Linked DNA regions of Homo sapiens: region 2 is linked to region 1. The links are contacts of gene promoters, found by promoter capture Hi-C in human tissues and cell types (Jung and others, 2019). All regions are on one chromosome and are shown on one strand. The core of a region is centred on a gene start or on the middle of the fragment in contact, and the rest is flanking DNA. Distances in the headings are between cores, read along the strand shown. Region 1 holds the start of HOXB9 (homeobox B9). Region 2 overlaps LOC105371808 (a long non-coding RNA gene).

Region 1 (4,184 bases), core at 560-3,059:
CTTTACTCTCCAGCAGGCAAGGATGCTCTAAAGGGCCCTGGGGCCACTCCGTCAATGGGAAATCTAGCAGGGCAAGGAGAGACTAAAACATCCCTACTTCCCAAAAAGAGTAAGAAACGAGGACCTGATCCACCAGCCTGCGAGTCATTGTTTGAGGCTGAGTTCCCTCACCGATGAGCCCTTCTCAACCTTAAAAATAAATAATAGGAGAACCCTCTCTTCTCATCTAGTAGCACCTCCTGAAAATCAGCCAGACTTGGCGTTCTGGCCGGGGTGCTTTTGAGGAGTGGGAGGTGACGGGAAACTACCCACAAAGGGTAAAGTTCTCCGCCTCTCTGCAACTCTCTCTTCCCCCCACCCCTCCTCTCCCCGGGGTCCCTTCGAGATGCCCCGATATTCGGAAGCGATTCCCCGACTCCCCAAGAGGCGGACAGCCCGGGCTGGGGCTCGGGAGCCCCGCAGAGAGCAGCGGGGGACCGCAGAAAAGGAAGCGGTAGCCCCTGCGAGGACGCCGAGGAGGAGAGGGGCCACCGGAGGGAAGGCTCCCGGGGAGGGGCCGGCGCATCCGGGGAGGGGGCTCAGTCACCGCGTCCTGGGCTTCCCCCGCCCCTCCTGTCGCCGGTTGCGGACTCTGCGCGGCTACAGCGCGAGATCTGCTAGGAACAATCCTCCGCCAAGCTGTTGCATCGCAAATAAAATCCTAATGAGCTCCCTCCCCCTTCCCCTTGGCCGGCTTTTACGGTCTGCGCGTGGCGCGGGGAGCTCTGCCAGCCGCACGGCCCCGGGCAGCCCAGTGCGCTCCGGCCCTTGCCCTCGCCGGCTCTCGGCCTCGCTGGCCGCTGGCCCCGGCCCCCGCCAGCTCCTCTCCCGGCCGTCGCCGGTCTCTGGCCGGGCTTTCAGCTGGGGCCTCCGGGAGAGAGGGGGAAAGAGGGCCGAGAGAGCTGCAAGTCGATCCCCGAGCCCCTGTTCCCCGCAGGACTTGGAGAAGTGGGGGCAGCGCTCCTCTGGCGGCCTCAGTCTCCCCTTCTAGAGCACGCAGCTTTCCCCTTCCCTCCGTCTTTCCTTCCTCTCCCCTCCTCCTCCCGGCCCGCTCTCCGGCCACCGCCGCAGTTTCCCTTCACATTGTCCGCAGTTTATTGCCTTTCCCCTCCCCGCCCCCCTCCTGGCCTTCGGCCTGGGTATTTCCTCACTTTTTATAACTTACTTTGATCCGGCCTCTCTTTGTCCTCGCTTCCTTCGCAAATTTTATTGTCCCCGTAGCCGGGTCTTTGATTAGACAGCACGGCCTCCCTGCCCGCCGAAGTTTCCAAACTGTACTCGGGCGTGCCCTGTTTGAGCAGCTCCCCAGGCGCGCCCAGCAGCGGCTCCGCCTTCACCGCCGCCTGGCCCTGCCCCGGGGCCGCTTCGCCGCGCGGCGCCGGCTCCAGCCAGGTGCGGAGGTACCTGCTCTCGGCCGGCGGGACGCCCTGGGGCTGGATGTAAGGGTGGTAGACGGACGGCAGGCTCCCGGACGCGTGCGGGCTCAGCGGCGCCCAGGAGGCGCCGAACACCGGCGCTTTGGGCTGGAAGCTGCACGAGGGGAACTCCAGGTGCTCCGCGTGGCCCGGCTGCCGCGAGCTCGCGTACTGGCCAGAAGGAAACTTGGCTGGAGGCGCGTCCTCACTCTCGTGACTTATGATCGAGTCGACATAATAGCTGCTAAGCGTCCCAGAAATGGACATTCTCAGACATTATCCGGGCGCTTGCAGGGGGAAGGGAAGCGCTCGCGCGGCGGCGCCCAAGCAGGGAGAGGTGGCACCCGGACCGGTGTGAGGGCTTTCGGACGCGACCCCCCCAGCCCCCCACCCTCCCACCCCCACCCCCTGCTCAACTTCTCAGCCAACAAAGTACAGTGGAGCAGCCCGTCTCAGCTCTCCTTGCAAAATGATTGGTCAAAGTTTTTCCGACTGCCTGATAAAGCGTCAGCTCCGACATAAATCAATCGGGCGAGGGGGCTGCGCTCTCGCTGTCATCCGTCCGCACCGCACTCCATATCGAGGATGGATTGTTTTATGCTGATGCAATGTGCTATCACGTCAGGGCTCCGGCGGCCACGTAACCTCAGCCCCAGCTACCGGCCGCCCGGTCCCCCCCTCCCGCTGCAGGAAGGGGGGCAGTTCTCAACATGGGGCGGCGGGGGCGGAGGAGAGGCGGAGGGAAGCGGCGGGCTGCCTTGGGAGGGACGCAGGCTGTAGAGCCCTCTCCCCAGGCGGGTCGGGGAGGGAGGGAGAGCAAGGGCGGAGGGAGGGAGAGAGCCCCAGCCCGGGGAGAAGCCATAGAGGCCCGAGAGGATACTGGAAGAGGAGGTGCTCCTGTCCCCCCACACACACCTCCACCCCGCAGGCCCTCATTTCCTCTTCTCTTTCCCCTTGACAAAAGATGTTTATTAAACAACAACAGCAGCAGCAATCCACAGGAGATGAAGTAAAATGATGAGGGGAAAAGTTGGGGATTTTAGGACGTTGTCCGCTTTGGAGGGGGCTCTCCTTGCACTCTTTGTAGAGATTTACATGACTGCGAGCTTCCCTGGGCCCCTCAGTAGCTGAGGGAGGAGGAGAGAGGTGAATAAAACGACTGAGTGTCCAAGAATCCACTATCTGTCCTGAAATTAGAAACTACTTGAGGTTAAAGGGATCCATCAGGTCCCGGAAACGTGAGCCTAGGAAAGAGTTTAATACAAGGAACCAGAGCGCCTTTACATTTATTGGGCCTTTCTCTGACTCTGGCCAGAAGGATGGATTTAAGATGGTGGTGGTGACGTGGGGGGTGGGGGTGAGGGAAGCCATTTCTCCTTTTCTCCACTGAATAACCACCCAGGCCCCTAAATTTGCCCTGATGAGGGAGCTAAATAGGAGAAAGGGTTAAGGCCACTTTCCTGAGGTGTGACCAGAGCAGAGGCCTGGGAAAGGATCCCCAGTCAGCAAGGGAAGGGGTCCCAAGTTATCTCCCCTTCCATCCAAAGAGGAAGGAGCCTGGGCTGAGTTTTCAGCCCTCCTGTACTACTCCTCTCACCTGAGGCTCCTGCTCTGGAGATTTCCAAACACCGATATAGGGGCCAGTGTGGACAGCGAGCCCATGGTCAGTCTCTTCCCCTCACTGCCTTACCCCCTGCAGACCCCTTCATTGGAGCTTCCAAATAGCCCTTTTTATATATATCTATTCTGTGGCCCTGCACAGGGACTCCCCCGGGGCCCACCGACTGGCTTCCTCGCTCCTCTCCCAGCCCCTGCTCCTCAGCTTCTGCCCTGGTTGCAGTCGCCTCTCCTGGCACTTGGGGAGGTGTGACCCCTGGACAGACCCAGTTCTCCTCTGGTTAGGCTCAGGGGTAGATTGGGGTGGATTTCTCGGCAACTCTCTGACTCTGAGTCCTAATAAGGCAGGCTGCCCTCAGTCCGGTCCTTTTAGCAAAAGAGGGGCCACTCTAACTTGAGTCCGTATCTTTTTGGCCACCTACCCCTCTGCCTTGTAGAAGGCTGCGGATCACCTCCCACACAGGCACACACTCCCACCCGCTTGTCTTTCCAAATGAAGCCATCTCGTGTCATTACACGTGAAATACGAGGGTGAAGCGCCATATTTCTTCACATTATGGCGATTTCAAAATGATTTTTTAAAGATCAATGCCGGCGCCCATCTGGCCCCCTCCTTTCCCACCCCTGCTCTCCGAGGGTGACAGCCCGGCAGATCCGTAACCAAACAGCATGAAGGTCTGCCTTTTCCATAGGACCCAAGTGGGGAAACAAAAATCCGATGCAAATTCTTCCAAGCAGAGGTTGGACGCTTGGGAAAGTCGAGGGAGCTCCCCGGACTCACCAGCGAAAAAGCTGGGCACTGAGCGAATGAATCACAGTTAAGGCAAAGCACCTGTTCTCAATTTGCCAGCCCTATGAAGTCTGCTGTTGGCTTTACCTGTCATAAATACACTCTTCAGGAAAAAAGATTCCCTCCCCCGCCATAAATAATGGTGTTATGAAGCATGGTGGGCTGAGTATATGATTTCTGTAGTATATAAATTAGGGCCTAAAAGGACATGTTTACTACGGACTGGGGTTTTTTTATTTATTGAAAAGTCACAGCGCTGGGCTGTCCTTAAGACCCAAGCAAAGCAGGCACTGCGCTCTGACTGCCGTCTTCCTGGTTCCCCT
Region 2 (4,253 bases), core at 11-2,510, 100 kb before region 1:
AAAACCCAAGTGTCACTTATTTATTGTATTAGCTCTTTTCGTGTCTTTGGAAAGAGTTCAGACTGTTACAAATTTACCAAGTTTCTCTACCATAAACCATGGTTTATAATATTGCACACAGCTATGTGAAGCTTTTACAGTCCTGGATCATGTCCCCAACCCCACAGTTCCATTTTAGCCAATCTCCACGCACTCTTCCCCCAAAAGACAATCATTTGCTGAGTCTTCTCTTCTTCTAGAGGCCTAGGCTGCTGGTCCAGTAAGGGTGGAGAGACCAGGACATGACCCCACGACTGACTGGTGCCCTTCCCCCGCTCTTCTGGCCTCAGCAGTCCCCCGACAGGCGGCTCTGTCAGGGCTGGGGAGTGGAGGGGGCTGCAAGCCATTGCAGGGCTGAACTCTCTATGAACCGGGAAGGAAGGGGGTGGGGGCAACAGAGCAGAGCCAACAGGAGGAGGCTGGGGAGGCAGGCTTCTGGACAAACCTCTCTGGCTGAGTAAATATTGAGCTGCCTCATCTCCAAGGTGGGGGTTGAAATGGAGCTGTCAAGCCAGAGTAAACTGAAGGGAGCATCAGGCCTCTAAGGAGCAGAGGGCGCATGTTTGGTGCAGCTCCCTCCCTGCTCGGTTCCCCTCCAGGCAGAAAGGGCTGCAGGGCTCAGAATTCTCTGGACTCAGGCCAGTGATCTGGAGAGGATGAAGGAAAGGGGTGATTTTAATTAGCTCTAACTAGGCCAGTAAAATACATCCAACAGGATGCTTCTCCACCCAACTATTTCCATCTCCCACCAAGTTTACACTCTTTCTTACCTAAGTCTTCATCTACCCTCAAAGGAAAGAATGAGTCCAGCTGCAGTGGGATAATTTAACTTATATTAAAGACTGGGAAAATAGGCCCAGAGAGGTTAAGTGACTTACCCAAGGACACAAGGAAGGGTCTTAGTAGACTAAACTTAGGTCTCCTGACTTCCTACAAAATTATTTCTTCTCTGAAGCATCTGATCCATTTCTTTTCTGATGAAGAGAATAACAGTGGATGAGGGCCAGGAGGTCAGCCTTGGAGCTGAATCCTGCAGCTACTTGAGCCTCCATGTTCTCCCAGGAATGGACATTAAGTATTTTACATCTCCAACTTTTGTCCCACCCAGGATACACTCTGATTATAGGAAGCATTTTGAGAGCCACAGAAATAGCAAAAGCTGAAGCCTCTGGAATACTCTGGTTGAGTCATGCAAGGAATTCAGAGCCAGGACTGAGGCACAGGGGAAAAAATCTGGTACAACTGCAGGGGGCGCCAATTTCGTGGACTACAACGAGAATACCCTCCCGAGTTACGCAATGAGTCTGTCTTGTCAAGGACATCCCTCATTATAATACTGTACTTAACTGTAAGCCTGTAAAGCCTGTATTCTGTGGACTCCTCTGAAACCTTTCATTCATAATTATTTTACTGTCTAGCAGCAAGTCCCATGCTTATGGTGCTGGCTGGGTCTGCTGGTACAGCGCAGGGGGGCCAAGGCTGGACAACATCTGCTTTCATCATGCCAAGACCAAGAATAACTCAATGTAAGAAAGTAATAGGAAAATGTCCTATGTAACTATGTAAAATAGGAAGCCTCTGCTCAACACTCACCATACACCAGGCAGTGTTCTAAGCATCTCTCATATATATCATGTATTATTCAATATCCTTCATTGTATATCTGAAGAAACTGAAGCACAGGGAAACTAAACAACTCACATGAGCTCATCCAGCTAATAAAAGGGGACCATTCTGAACACTAAGTTATACTCCAGAACCCTTGCTCTCCACCACCCTAAGTCAGGGAATTGAAGTTTCTGCCTTCCAGACTTCTTATCCATCTTCTATAATGGAGAAGAGAGGGAATGAGTGTGAGAGGCCAGGATAACTTTCCTCTTCGACAGGTGGGTACGCTGAGAACAGAACAAAAAGGTTTCTCAGCCAAATGAACCTTCAGTGTTCTCAGCTGCTAAGAGGGCAATCCCTTCCATTTGTCTCTAGCTCCATACACCTATCAGGGATCAAATAAGCTATGAGTGTGAGAAGTGGGCATAGTCAAGATACTCCCTGGAAGAGATTGGGGACTATAGAAGGGAAGATCACAGTCCCTTTTAATAATGATAATAATTTGTTATTGCTCACTTTGTTTATGTGGGACCATTCCAAGCATTTTACACATATTAACTCATTTAATCCCAACATCAACCCCATGAAATAGGTACTGTCGTTATCCCTATTTTGTAGATAATGAAACTGGGCACAGGGAATTAGGCAACTTGCCCAAGGCCACAGGGCTAGTGAGAGGCAGGGCTTGGATTTGAACCCAGATATCCTAGACATGTCCCCCAACTCCTTGGTGCTGCTCTCTGGCTCATTTTGATCTCCCTTGTCTGTCATCTGGAGAGATTCCTCCAAGCCTGCCATCCACACTCTCTTCTAAACATCATCCCACCAACTCCTTCCCAGGAGCCCGGTGCTATCTGCACAAGGAATGCTCACAACAAAGAAACCTGCATTGGCCGGGCAGGCGTGTTGGCTCACGCCTGTAATCCCAGCACTTTGGGAGGCTGAGGCCGGCAGATCACCTGAGGTCAGGAGTTCGAGACCAGCCTGACCAACATGGAGAAACCCCATCTCTACTAAAAATACAAAATTAGCCGGGCGGGATGGCCCATGCCTGTAATCCCAGCTACTCCTACTTGGGAGGCTGAGGCAGGAGAATCACTTGAACCTGGGAGGTGGAGGTTGCAGTGAGCCGAGATCACATAGCCTGGGCCATAAGAGGCAAACTCCATCTCAAAAAAAAAGAAAAAGGAAAAGAAAAAAAAGAAACTTGCATTAACAGTTAGAAGAGCTTCAGGGCTGGCCAGGCATGGTGGCTCACGCCTGTAATCCCAGCACTTTGGGAGGCTGAGGCGGGTGGATCACCTGAGGTCGGGAGTTCAAGACCAGCCTGACCAACATGGAGAAACCCCGTCTCTACTAAAAATACAAAAATTAGCCGGGCATGATGGCGCATTCCTGTAATCCCAGCTACTCAGGAAGGCTGAGGCAGGAGAATTGCTTGAACCTGGGAGGCAGAGGTTGCGGTGAGCCGAGATCGCACCATTGTACACTAGCCTGGGCAACAAGAGCGAAACTCCGTAAAAAAAAAAGAAGAAGAAGAGCTTCAGGGTCTTCAAAATCTTTTTCTTTCTCTCTTGTTCAGGAGATCAAAGGGCCTCACAATGGGAGAACAAACGCTGAGGGAAAAGGCAAAGGAAAGAGGAAAAGTTCACACTCTGGCTGAGAAACAGATGGTGCAGAGGATTGGGTGGAGTGAAGACTTGACTGGCTCCCTACCTGATGCCCGGGTTTGTGGGGAGTGGGGGGCTCCTCAGAAATCTTGACAAACTTTCAACCAGCCTAGAGAATTCTCCCTCCTGTGAAGAATGAAGACTAGGCAGGCATGGTGGCTCATGTCTGTAATTCCAGTATTAATACTTTGGAAGGCCAAGGTGGGAAGATCCCTTAAACCCAGGAGTTCAAGAGCAGCCTGAACAACACAGCGAGACCCCATCTCTTAAATTAAATTTTTAAAAAAGACAGTCAAGACTCAAAAAACTCAAGCTTTTTGTTTTCAAACTGGAGATATTTTTTGACATTTGGGAAATGGAGGTGTGGGTGGACAGCTTTCAAATTTTGCAAAAAAAAAAAAAAAAAAATTACTTTCAGACCTCCTAGTAAATATAATACCCTCCTTCCCAGAGCTATGAAAAAAACAGCAATCTGAAAGACATGAAGAAGTCTATGAGTGAAGCAATTTGGCATCTATTCTGGAAAGTTTAACAATGAAGGGCTGGGCACGGAGGCTCCCAGCACTTTAGGAGGCCAAGGCGGGCAGATTGCTTGAGCTCAGGAGTTCAAGACCAGCCTAGGCAACATGGTGAAACCCCATCTCTACAACAAAAAGATACAAAAATTAGCCAGGCATGGTGGCATGCGCCTGTAGTCCCAGCTACTTGGGAGGCTGAGGTGGGAGGATCACTTGAGCCCAAGAGGTCGAAGCTGCAGCAAGCTGAGATCAGGCCACTGCACTCCAGCCTGGGCGACAGAGGGATACCCTGTCTCAAAAAAACAAAACAAAACAAAACAAAAAACAATGAAGACTATCAATTTATCTCAATGGGGGCAAAATGTTTTTGTTAGTTTACCATTCTCTCCTTTGTCCTAATGTCTCCCATGTAGGCCTG

Evidence for each region. Contacts are between HindIII fragments. The study calls those that stand out against the background at their distance.
Region 2: a contact is called between a fragment that was not itself captured here and the fragment with the promoter of HOXB9 in region 1, in 2 of the 25 tissues and cell types used here (H1 embryonic stem cells and neural progenitor cells).

Annotation. Positions count from the first base shown.
Region 1 is chr17:48,624,549-48,628,732 of GRCh38, forward strand. HOXB9 (homeobox B9) reads right to left here and starts at 1,810. Exons shown (of 2, transcript NM_024017.5): 1 at 1,205-1,810. The coding sequence starts at 1,721. It overlaps HOXB-AS4 (HOXB cluster antisense RNA 4), which reads left to right and starts at 4,150. Exons shown (of 2, transcript NR_046611.1): 1 at 4,150-4,184. RefSeq lists an enhancer at 663-1,340 and a silencer at 2,751-2,906. The HindIII fragment of the contact is 6,922 bases long and covers 1-4,184 here.
Region 2 is chr17:48,521,880-48,526,132 of GRCh38, forward strand. It overlaps LOC105371808 (a long non-coding RNA gene), which reads right to left. Exons shown (of 4, transcript XR_934811.2): 2 at 918-1,013; 3 at 485-686. Among named protein-coding and RNA genes, the nearest start is that of HOXB1, 7.0 kb to the right of the region's middle. RefSeq lists enhancers at 248-542, 390-912. The HindIII fragment of the contact is 5,868 bases long and covers 1-4,194 here.